Linked DNA regions of Homo sapiens: region 2 is linked to region 1. Evidence: promoter capture Hi-C in 16 types of primary human blood cells and fetal thymus (Javierre and others, 2016). All regions are on one chromosome and are shown on one strand. The core of a region is centred on a gene start or on the middle of the fragment in contact, and the rest is flanking DNA. Distances in the headings are between cores, read along the strand shown.

Evidence for each region. The method cuts DNA at HindIII sites, captures the fragments that hold promoters and counts their contacts. A CHiCAGO score of 5 or more calls a contact.
Region 2: a contact is called between a fragment that was not itself captured here and the fragment with the promoter of KASH5 in region 1, in 3 of 17 cell types (naive B cells, total B cells and M2 macrophages). The highest score is 9.8, in naive B cells.

Annotation. Positions count from the first base shown.
Region 1 is chr19:49,385,355-49,390,049 of GRCh38, forward strand. KASH5 (KASH domain containing 5) reads left to right here and starts at 2,895. Exons shown (of 20, transcript NM_144688.5): 1 at 2,895-2,973. It overlaps LOC101928295 (a long non-coding RNA gene), which reads right to left and starts at 2,727. Exons shown (of 3, transcript NR_110729.1): 1 at 2,002-2,727. The HindIII fragment of the contact is 10,613 bases long and covers 1-4,695 here.
Region 2 is chr19:49,258,807-49,263,501 of GRCh38, forward strand. The region is part of intron 2 of LOC107985340 (a long non-coding RNA gene); the gene reads left to right. Among named protein-coding and RNA genes, the nearest start is that of MIR4324, 48 kb to the right of the region's middle. The HindIII fragment of the contact is 6,522 bases long and covers 1-4,695 here.

The sequences.
Region 1 (4,695 bases), core at 1,645-4,144:
CTAAAAATTATCACTCAGGTCAAATTAGAAAATATTTTGAATTGATAATAATGGAAACGTGGCCAGGCATGGTGGCTCATGCCAATAATCCCAGCACTCTGGGAGGCTGAGGCAGGCAGATCACTTGAGGTCGGGAGTTCGAGACCAGCCTAGCCAACATGGAGAAACCCCCATCTCTACTAAAGATACAAAAATTAGCCAGGTGTGGTGGTGCATGCCTGTAATCCCAGCTACTCGGGAGGCTGAGGCAGGAGAATCATTTGAACCCAGGAGGCAGAGATTGCAGCGAGCCAAGATTGTGCCATTGCACTCCAGCCTGGGTGACAGATCGAGACTCTGTCTCAAAAAATAATAATAATAATAGAAATGTGGCATAACAAATGTGTCAAGTGTAGCTACAGAAGTTTTTAGAAGGCAAATGATGGCTCTAAACGCATGTATTAGAAGAGATCTTTAAAAATCAAATGACCTGGCTGGGCACATGACCTGGCATCAGCACGGTGGCTCACGCCTCTAATCCCAGCACTTTAGGAGGCCAAGGCAGGCGGCTCACCCGAGGTCAGGAGTTCAAGACCAGTCTGGCCAACATGGTGAAACCCCGACTCTACTAAAAATACAAAAAATTAGCCAGGCATGGTGGGGCACGCCTGTAATCCCAGCTACTCAGTAGGTTGAGGCAGGAGAATCGCTTGAACTCGGGAGGCACAGGTTGCAGTGAGCCAAGACCGCACCACTGCACTCCAGCCTGGGTGACAGTGAAACTCCGTCTCAAAAAAAAAATCAATGGCTTAATAACCTAAAAATATCAGTGACCTAAGCATTCACCTCAAGAAGTTGGGGGGAAAAAGCTGGAAAAAGAACAGCAGATCATGCCGGGCGCGGTGGCTCACGCCTGTAATCCCAGCACTTTGGGAGGCCGAGGCGGGCGGATCACGAGGTCAGGAGATCGAGACCATCCTGGCTAACACGGTGAAACCCCGTCTCTACTAAAAATACAAAAAATTAGCCGGGCGTGGTAGCGGGTGCCTGTAGTCCCAGCTACTCGGGAGGCTGAGGCAGGAGAATGGCGTGAACCCGGGAGGCGGAGCTTGCAGTGAGCCGAGATCGCCCCACTGCACTCCAGCCTGGGCGACAGAGCGAGACTCCGTCTCAAAAAAAAAAAACAAAAAAACAAAAAAAAAAACAGCAAGATCAGGGGCTTGAGGGCACATGGCTGTAGTCCCACCTACTCAGGAGGCTGAGGTGGGAGGATTACTTGAGCCCAGGAGGTGGAGGCTGCAGTGAGCTAGGGTCACATTACTGCACTCTATCCTGGGTGAGAACCTGTCTCAGAAAGAGAGGAGGGGGGAGGGGAGGGGAGGAAGGGGAGGGAGGAGGGGAGGCAGTGGACGCGGAGGGGAAGGGAGGGGAAGGGAGGGGAAGGGAGGGGAAGGGAGGGGGAAGGGAGGGGAAGGGAGGGGAGATAAAGGGAGGGGGAGGGGAAGGGAGGTGGGAGGGGAGATGAGGGGAGGAAAGTGGGGGGAGGAGAGGAGCAGAGGGGAAGAGAGGGGGAGGGGAGGGGAAGGTACGGGGGAGGGGAGATGAGGGGAGGGGAGTGGGGGAAGGGGAGGACAGGAGCAGAAGGGAAGGGAGGCGGGAGGGGAGGGGAAGGTACGGGGGAGGGGAGATGAGGGGAGGGGAGTGGGGGAAGGGGAGGAGAGGAGCAGAGGGGAAGGGAGGGGGGAAAAGAGAGATGGCACAAATTATTAATATCCGTCACCACAGATCTTACAGATATTAAAAAGATTGGGCATGGTGGCTCATGCCAGTAACCCCAGCACTTTGGGAGGCCAAGGTAGGAGGATCATTTGAGGGCAGGAGTTCGAGACCAGCCTAACATAAGACCGTGTTTCTCCCCCTCCAAAAAAAGACAATATTATGAACTTTATGCAAATTATTTGAAATTTTAGATAAAATGGAAAAATTCCTTGAAAACCACAACTTACCAAAACCACAACTTACCAGAAATAAAATAGAACATCTGAATAGTTGTATTTTTATAAAAGAAATAGAATTTGTAATTTAAAGTCTTTCCACAAAGAAAACTCTAGGTCCAGATGGCTGGTGACTTCTTCCAAACACATAAAAAATAAATAACATCAATCCTACACTAGCACTTTCAAAGAATAGAAAAAGAGAGAACACTTCTCCACACATTATATCAGCATAGCCTTGTTAACAAAACTCAACAGGGATCTCACAGAAAAGAAAAGAAAAGAAAATATGGCAATACATAAAAAGGACAGGCCAGGCGCTGTGTCTCACGCCTGTAATCCCAGCACTTTGGGAGGCCGAGGCGGGTGGATCGCCTGAGGTTGGGAGTTCGGTACCGGCCTGGCCAACGTGGTGAAACCCCGTCTCTACTAAAAATACAAAAATTAGCCAGGTGTGGTGGCGGGCGCATGTAATCCCAGCTACTCGGGAGGCTGAGGCAGGAGAATTGCTTGAACCCGGGAGGCGGAGGTTGCAGTGAGCTAAAATTGTCCCACTGCACTCCAGCCTGGGCGACAGAGCGAGACTCCATCTCAAAAAAAAAAAAAAAAGAAAGAAATGGGGGACGGACAAGGAGTCTCTCAGTTCAATTCCCCCTTCCTCAGCCCATTTCACCAAAGCCTGAAGCGGAAGAGAAAAACACGAGCCCCAGCATGGCGGGCGCAGCCACCCCCTCCTTCCACCACCAGACAAACTCCGTGGCCACAGCCCACACCGCCAGCGCGCATGCGTGACACGCGTCGGCCGCCGGTTTGCACCTGCGTCTTAAGAGGAGTCCGGGCGGGGAGGGGCGGGGCTCAGACGCTGCGCACGCGCACTCGCGACCCCTCGCCTCCTTTTGCTTTTTCTGGCGGGAAAAGCTCACGCGCACCTCCCCCAACTCAACTGCCGTTCGTCGTTCGTGGATGTCCGTTGTGTCCCGAGACTAGGACGTGGCTCCAGGTGCGCCCTGCCCCGCGGCGAGGTTCCCAGAATGGCCCTTCCCAGCCCCTACCGAAATCCTAGCGAAGCCCCCCCATATTGTGGGAGAGATACCCCTGCGTCAGGGCCCCCCAGATCCTGACCACTTGGGAGGCCGAGGCGGGCGGATCACGAGGTCAGAAGATAGAGACCATCCCGGGGAAGTGAAACCCCGTCTCTACTAAAAATACAAAAAATTAGCCAGGCGTAGTGGCACGCGCCTATAATCCCAGCTACTCAGGAGGCTGGGGCAGGAGAACTGCTTGAACCTGGAAGGCAGAGGTTGCAGTGAGCTGAGATCGCGCCACTGCACTCCAGCCTGGGTGACAAGAGTGAGACTCCGTCTCAAAAAAAAAAAAAAAAATCCTGACCACATCCCCTCAGATATACTGAAAGGAGTCCACCAGGAAATCTTATAGTTGACCCCCGAAATCCTGTCAGAATCGTCTAGAAATTGTCAGACTTCTCCCTCAGAGCCTGCCAGAAACTTTCCCCAAAATCCTATTACTCTCCCCAGATCAGCAGAGCCACCTAGACTCGTGTCAGAGATCCCCAGAAATCCTGGCAGGTCCCCTCCCAAACCCAGTCGGACCTCAGATTCCGTCAGAGAGCACAGAAGTCCATCAAAGACACCCCAGAAACGGAGACCCCGAAATGCACTCAGAGACCCCCGCAGAAATCAAGACCCTCCAAATCCAGCCAGAGACCCCCAGAAATCCAGTCAGACCCCTGCAGAAATCAAGACCCCCAAAATCCAGCCAGAGACCCCCAGAAATCCAGAGACCCCCGCATAAATCAAGACCCCCAAAATCCAGAGACCCCGAATAAATCAAGACCCCCAAAATCCAGTCAGAGAACCCCCAGAAATCCAATCAGACCCCCGCAGAAATCAAGACCCCCGAAATCCAGCCAGAGACCCCTGAAATCCAGTCAGAGACCCCCACAGAAATCAAAATCTCCAAAATCCAGCCAGACACTCCCCAGAAATCCAGTCAGAGACCCCCCCAAAATCCTGTCAGAGCCCTTGAAAGCCCGCCAAGGCCCACACCACCCAGAGCTCCTGCCAGGGCCCCATCCTGCTTCAGTGTCCCCGTCTCAGTCCCGTCAGACCCCCGAGATCAACCAACACCCCCGGGGTCCCTCAGGACTCCATCCCGAACCCACTCCGTGCGCCAGGGCCCAGCCAAGGCCATCGCCCCCCTTTGCACCCTGCAGGGTGTTCCAGACCCTGGAAGGGCCTCTCTTCAAAGACCCGTGTTTCCAGAACGGTGGCAGCGGGCTCACGTGGCTTGGGGAGAGCAGGCACTGGGGGAGCTGGGTGAGGACAGGCGAGCCCAGGCTCGACTGGTGGCCCCAAGGGGCGCCCGTGCCCGCTGTGATGATAGCAGCGCCCAGGTCTCTCTCTAGCCCCCAGAGTGCGGCCACTAAGGTTTTGGGTCGGCCTGGGTGGAATGGAGGCAGGATGGGGCCCCCCAAACTCCTGTCACTGCTGCAGGGACTGCCCAGAGCAGCTGCAAGTGGGGCTGGCAGGGATGAGGAGGAGGTGGCCTGGGCTTGGGGGACCATGTACATCCTGAGTTGGAACCCAGGGGAGCAGCAGGTTTGGGGCCATGATGAGGAGAGACCTAGGGGTTGCCCGACGGAGAGAAAAGGGACAGGAAGAGGCAGGAGCTTCAGAGACTACTCAATGCCACTCTAGCCTGA
Region 2 (4,695 bases), core at 626-3,125, 130 kb before region 1:
ATTCCAGGAATGCAAGGTTGGTTTAATATCTGAAAATCAATGTTATATCAATAGAATAAAGAACAAAACCCAATAAAGAACAAAACCCATATGATCATCACAGTAGATATATAAAGAGCACTTGACAAAATCCAACACCTTTCATGATAAACACTCAACAAACCTAGAAATAGAAGGAAATCTTGACTTGATAAAGGGAATCTACAAAAAAAAATCTATGGTTAACATCATACTTAATGGTGAAAACTGAATCCTTTCCAAGATCAGGAATAAGACATGAGTGTTTTTCTCACCACTTCTGTTCAATATTGTACTGGAGATTCTAGCCAGAGAAATTAGGCAAGACAATAAAATAAAAGACATCAAGAATGAAAAAGAAATAAACTGTCTCTCTTCCCATATAACATGATCTTGTATAAAGAAAATCCTAAGGAATCCACTAAACTATTAGAACTCCAATAGGTTCAGTAAGGTTGCAGAATACAAGATCAATATACAAAAATTGTATTTCTATATACTTGCAAAAAATCCAAAATTTAAGAAAACTGTTCCATATATGATAGTATGTGATACAGTTTGGATGTTTGTCCCCTCCAAATCTCATGTTGAAATGTAATCCCTACTGTTGGAGGTGGGGCCTGGTGAGAGGTGTTTGGGTCATGGGGCCAGATCTCTGATGAATGGCTTGTTGCTGACCTCTTGATAGTGAATGGCTTCTTGTGAGATCTGGTTAAGAGTGTGTGGCTCTTCCTCCTCTCTCTCTTGCTTCTGCTCGTGTGTAGTAGAAGTGACATGCTGGCTCTTTATGACCTTCCACCAAGATTTTAAGTGTCCTGAGGCCTTCAGCAGAAGCAGATGCTAGCACTATGCTTCCTGTATATCCTGCAGAACCGTGTGCCAAAATAAAACCTCTTTTCTTTATAAATTAAAGCAGCATGGGACTGGTATAAGGATGCACAATAGACCAATAGGAATACCAGTCAGGTATTCCTTTATAGCAATGCAAAAGTGGCCTAATGCAGTGTCAAAAAAAAAAATAAAATACTTAGTAATACATTTAACAAAAGGACAAATTTTATACTCTGAAAATTACAAAACATGTTGAAAGAAGATTTAATGAAAAGAAATCCCATGTTTATGAACCAGAAAACTAAGTATTAAGATGGCAATATTTCCCAAGTTGATCTATAGAATTAATGCAGTCCATCTCAAAATCCCTAGCTGGCTTCTTTGCAGAAAATGACCAGCTGATGATATAATTCATCTGGAAATTAAAGGCGGCCCAGAAGAGCCAAAACAAACTTGACAAAGAACAATGTCGGAGGACTCATGCTTCCTGATTTCAAAACTTATTATACTGCTACAGTAATTAAAGCTGCATGGGACTGGTACAAGAATGCATATAAACCAACAGGATACCATAGGATAGAATAGCCCAGAAATAAACCTTTATGTATGTAGTCAATTTTCAACAAGAGTGCCAAGAGTACTCAATGAGAAAAAGACAGTTTCTCCAACAGATATTGGGAAAATTGGATATACACATGCAAAAAAAATAACCTTGGATCCTTACACTCTACACAATAATTAACAAAATGGATAAAAGACCTACATGTAAGAGCAAAAACTATAAACCTTTTAGAAGAAAATGTTGGGGAGCAAATCTCTATGACCTTGGTTTGGCAATGGTTTCTTAAATATGACACCAAAATTTGTCCTTTTGTGCATCAAAAGACATTATCAGAGAGTGAAAAGATAACCCATCGAATGGGAGAAAACATTTGCAAATCAAGTATTTGGTAAGATTCGAGTATCCAGAATATAAAAATAACTCCTACAACTGAAAAAAAACTAAACTCAGTTAAAAAAAATGGGCAAAGTATGTTAATTAGCCCTATTGCGCCATTTCACTACATATACATGTTCCAAAACATCACGTTGTACATGATAAATATATATAATTTGCATCTGTTACTTTAAAAATCAATTTTTTAAAAAGGGCAAAGGACATCAATAGACATTTCTTCCAAGAAGATAAACAGATGGCCAAAAAGCAGATGAAAAGATGCTCAACATTGCTAATCACTAGAGGCAGGCAAATCAAGACCAGAGTTACCATTTCACACTGATGAAGATGGCTACAAGAAAAAAAAAAATCAGTGGGAAATAACAACTGCTGGGGAGGATGTGGTGAAATTAGAATCATTATGCATTGAGGATAAGAATGTCCACTGGAGCAGCCATGGTAAAAACCAGTTTGGCAGTTCCTCAAAAAGTAAAACAATTACCATTGGATCCAACAATTCCACTTCCGGGTACATACACACCTGACTTGAAAGGAAGAACTCAGGCCGGGCGCAGTGGCTCACCCCTGTAATCCCAGCACTTTGGGAGGCCGAGGCGGGCGGATCACGAGGTCAGGAGATTGAGACCATCCTGGCTAACACAGTGAAACCCTGTCTCTACTAAAAATACAAAAAATTAGCCGGGCATGGTGGCAGGCGTCTGTAGTCCCAGCTACTCGGGAGGCTGAGGCAGGAGAATGGTGTGAACCCGGGAGGCAGAGCTTGCAGTGAGCCAAGATCGCGCCACTGCACTCCAGCCTGGGCGACAGGGCAAGACTCCGCCTCAAAAAAAAAAAAAAAAAAAAAAAAGATTTAAAAAAGAATAAACTCTGGTATACCCTACAATGGAATATTATTCATCCATAAAAAATGAAATTCAGATACATGCTATAACATGGATGAGCCTTGAAAACATGTTAAATGAAATAAGCCAGATACAAAAAGACAAATATTATGATTCTATTTATATGAAATATCTAGAATAGGCAAATTCATAGAGACAGCATATTAGAGGTTACTAGGGGGGTGCTGGGCAGAGGGAGAGGAATTACTGCTTCCCAGGTGCAGAGTTTCTATTTGGGGTGTTGACATGTTTTGGAACTAGATAGAGATAGTGGTTGCACAACATTGTGAAAGTACTAAATGCCACTGAAGTGTTTCTTTAAAATGGCTAATTTTATGTTATGTGGATTTCACCTCAATAAAAATAATAAAAGATGATGAAATAATGCTACCAGACAGACAAAAGTTGGGAGAATTTGTCATTAGCACATCAGCACTGCAAAAAATATTAAAAATCTTTGGGCTGAAGGAATATTATTGGAGCTGGAAAGAGATGTAAGAGTAAAATAAGAGACGCAGAAACACATACTGCGTGATTTCACTCATACGTGGAATCTGAAAAAGTTGATCTAGAAGTAGAGACTAAAATGGTGGTTACCAGAGTGGGGATGATGGGGGAGTGGGGTGCTGGGGAGTTGTTGGTCAAATAATACAAAATTTCAGTTAGATGAAAAGAATAGGTTTAAGATAACTATCATTCAACATGGTGACTAAAGTTAATAACTACACTGTAATCTTGAAAAATGCTGATTTTAAATATTCTCACCACAAAAATATTAGATATGTAAATTAGCTACATTTAGCATTCCACAATGTATATATATTTCAAAACATCATGTTGAACACAAATACATACAATTTCATCTGTCAGTTAAAAAATAATAACATAAAATTTAGAAAGGAATAAAGAAAACCTGAAAGGGTGTCCCAGCTACTACCTAGGTCAAAGTAGTCCTAGCTACTCAGGAGGCTGAGGAGAGAGGATCACTTGAGCCCCAGAAGTTTTGAGGCTGCAGTGAGCTGATCATGCCATTGCACTCCAGTTTGGGCAACAGAGCAAGACCGTGTAGGCAAATTTGAGACTAATGAGTGCTTAAAGTAACAATAGCAGCAATGTATTGTGGGGTTCATAATATGTAGAAGAAAAATATTGGAGAACAATTGAAAAAAAAAATGGTGGGAAAACTAGAAATAGAAGGCAACTTCCTTAATCTACAGCTTCCTTAAGCCTATAACTAACATCACACTGAACAATGAAATATGAATGCTTTTCTCTTGAGTTTGGGGACAAGGTAAGGATGTTCATTCCACATTGTATTAAAGGTCCTAGCCTGTGCAATAAGGCAAGAAAAAAAAGTATAAAGATCAAAGTAAATAAAACTTTCCTTATTTAAAGGTGATGTAAGTATACTGTCAAGAGATCATGTATGTAGCTGGGCACAGTGGCTCATGCTTATAATCCTAGTACTGTGAGGCAGGAGGATCAGTTGAGGCCAGGAGCTCAAGACCAGCCTGGGCAACATAGCAAAACTCCATTTCTACAAAAATTGAAATAAAAAATTGGCCAGATGTGGTGGTACACGCCTGTAGTCCTAGCTACACAGGAGGCTGAGGAGAGAGGATCTCTTCAGCCCAGGAGTTTGAGGCTGCAGTGAGCTGATATGCCACTGCATTCCAGCTTGGACAAAAGAGTAAGACCCTGTCTCAGGAAAAAAAAAACCCAGATATTGTATATGTAAAAAGAATCTACAAATGGATGAAATTAAGTTTGTAATCGAATTTAGCAAAGTTCCTATATATAAGGCGATTGTACAAAAAATTATATTTTTGTATAGTAGCAACAAATAATTGGAAAATACTATTTTAAAACATCAAAGAAATTTAATACTTAGTAATCAATGTAGTTAAAATGTGTAAGACCTCGCTGAAAACTACAAAACAATGCAAAACACTTAGAGAATTTTACCATGTTCATGAGTTGGCAAGTTGAACATTTTTACAATGTCAA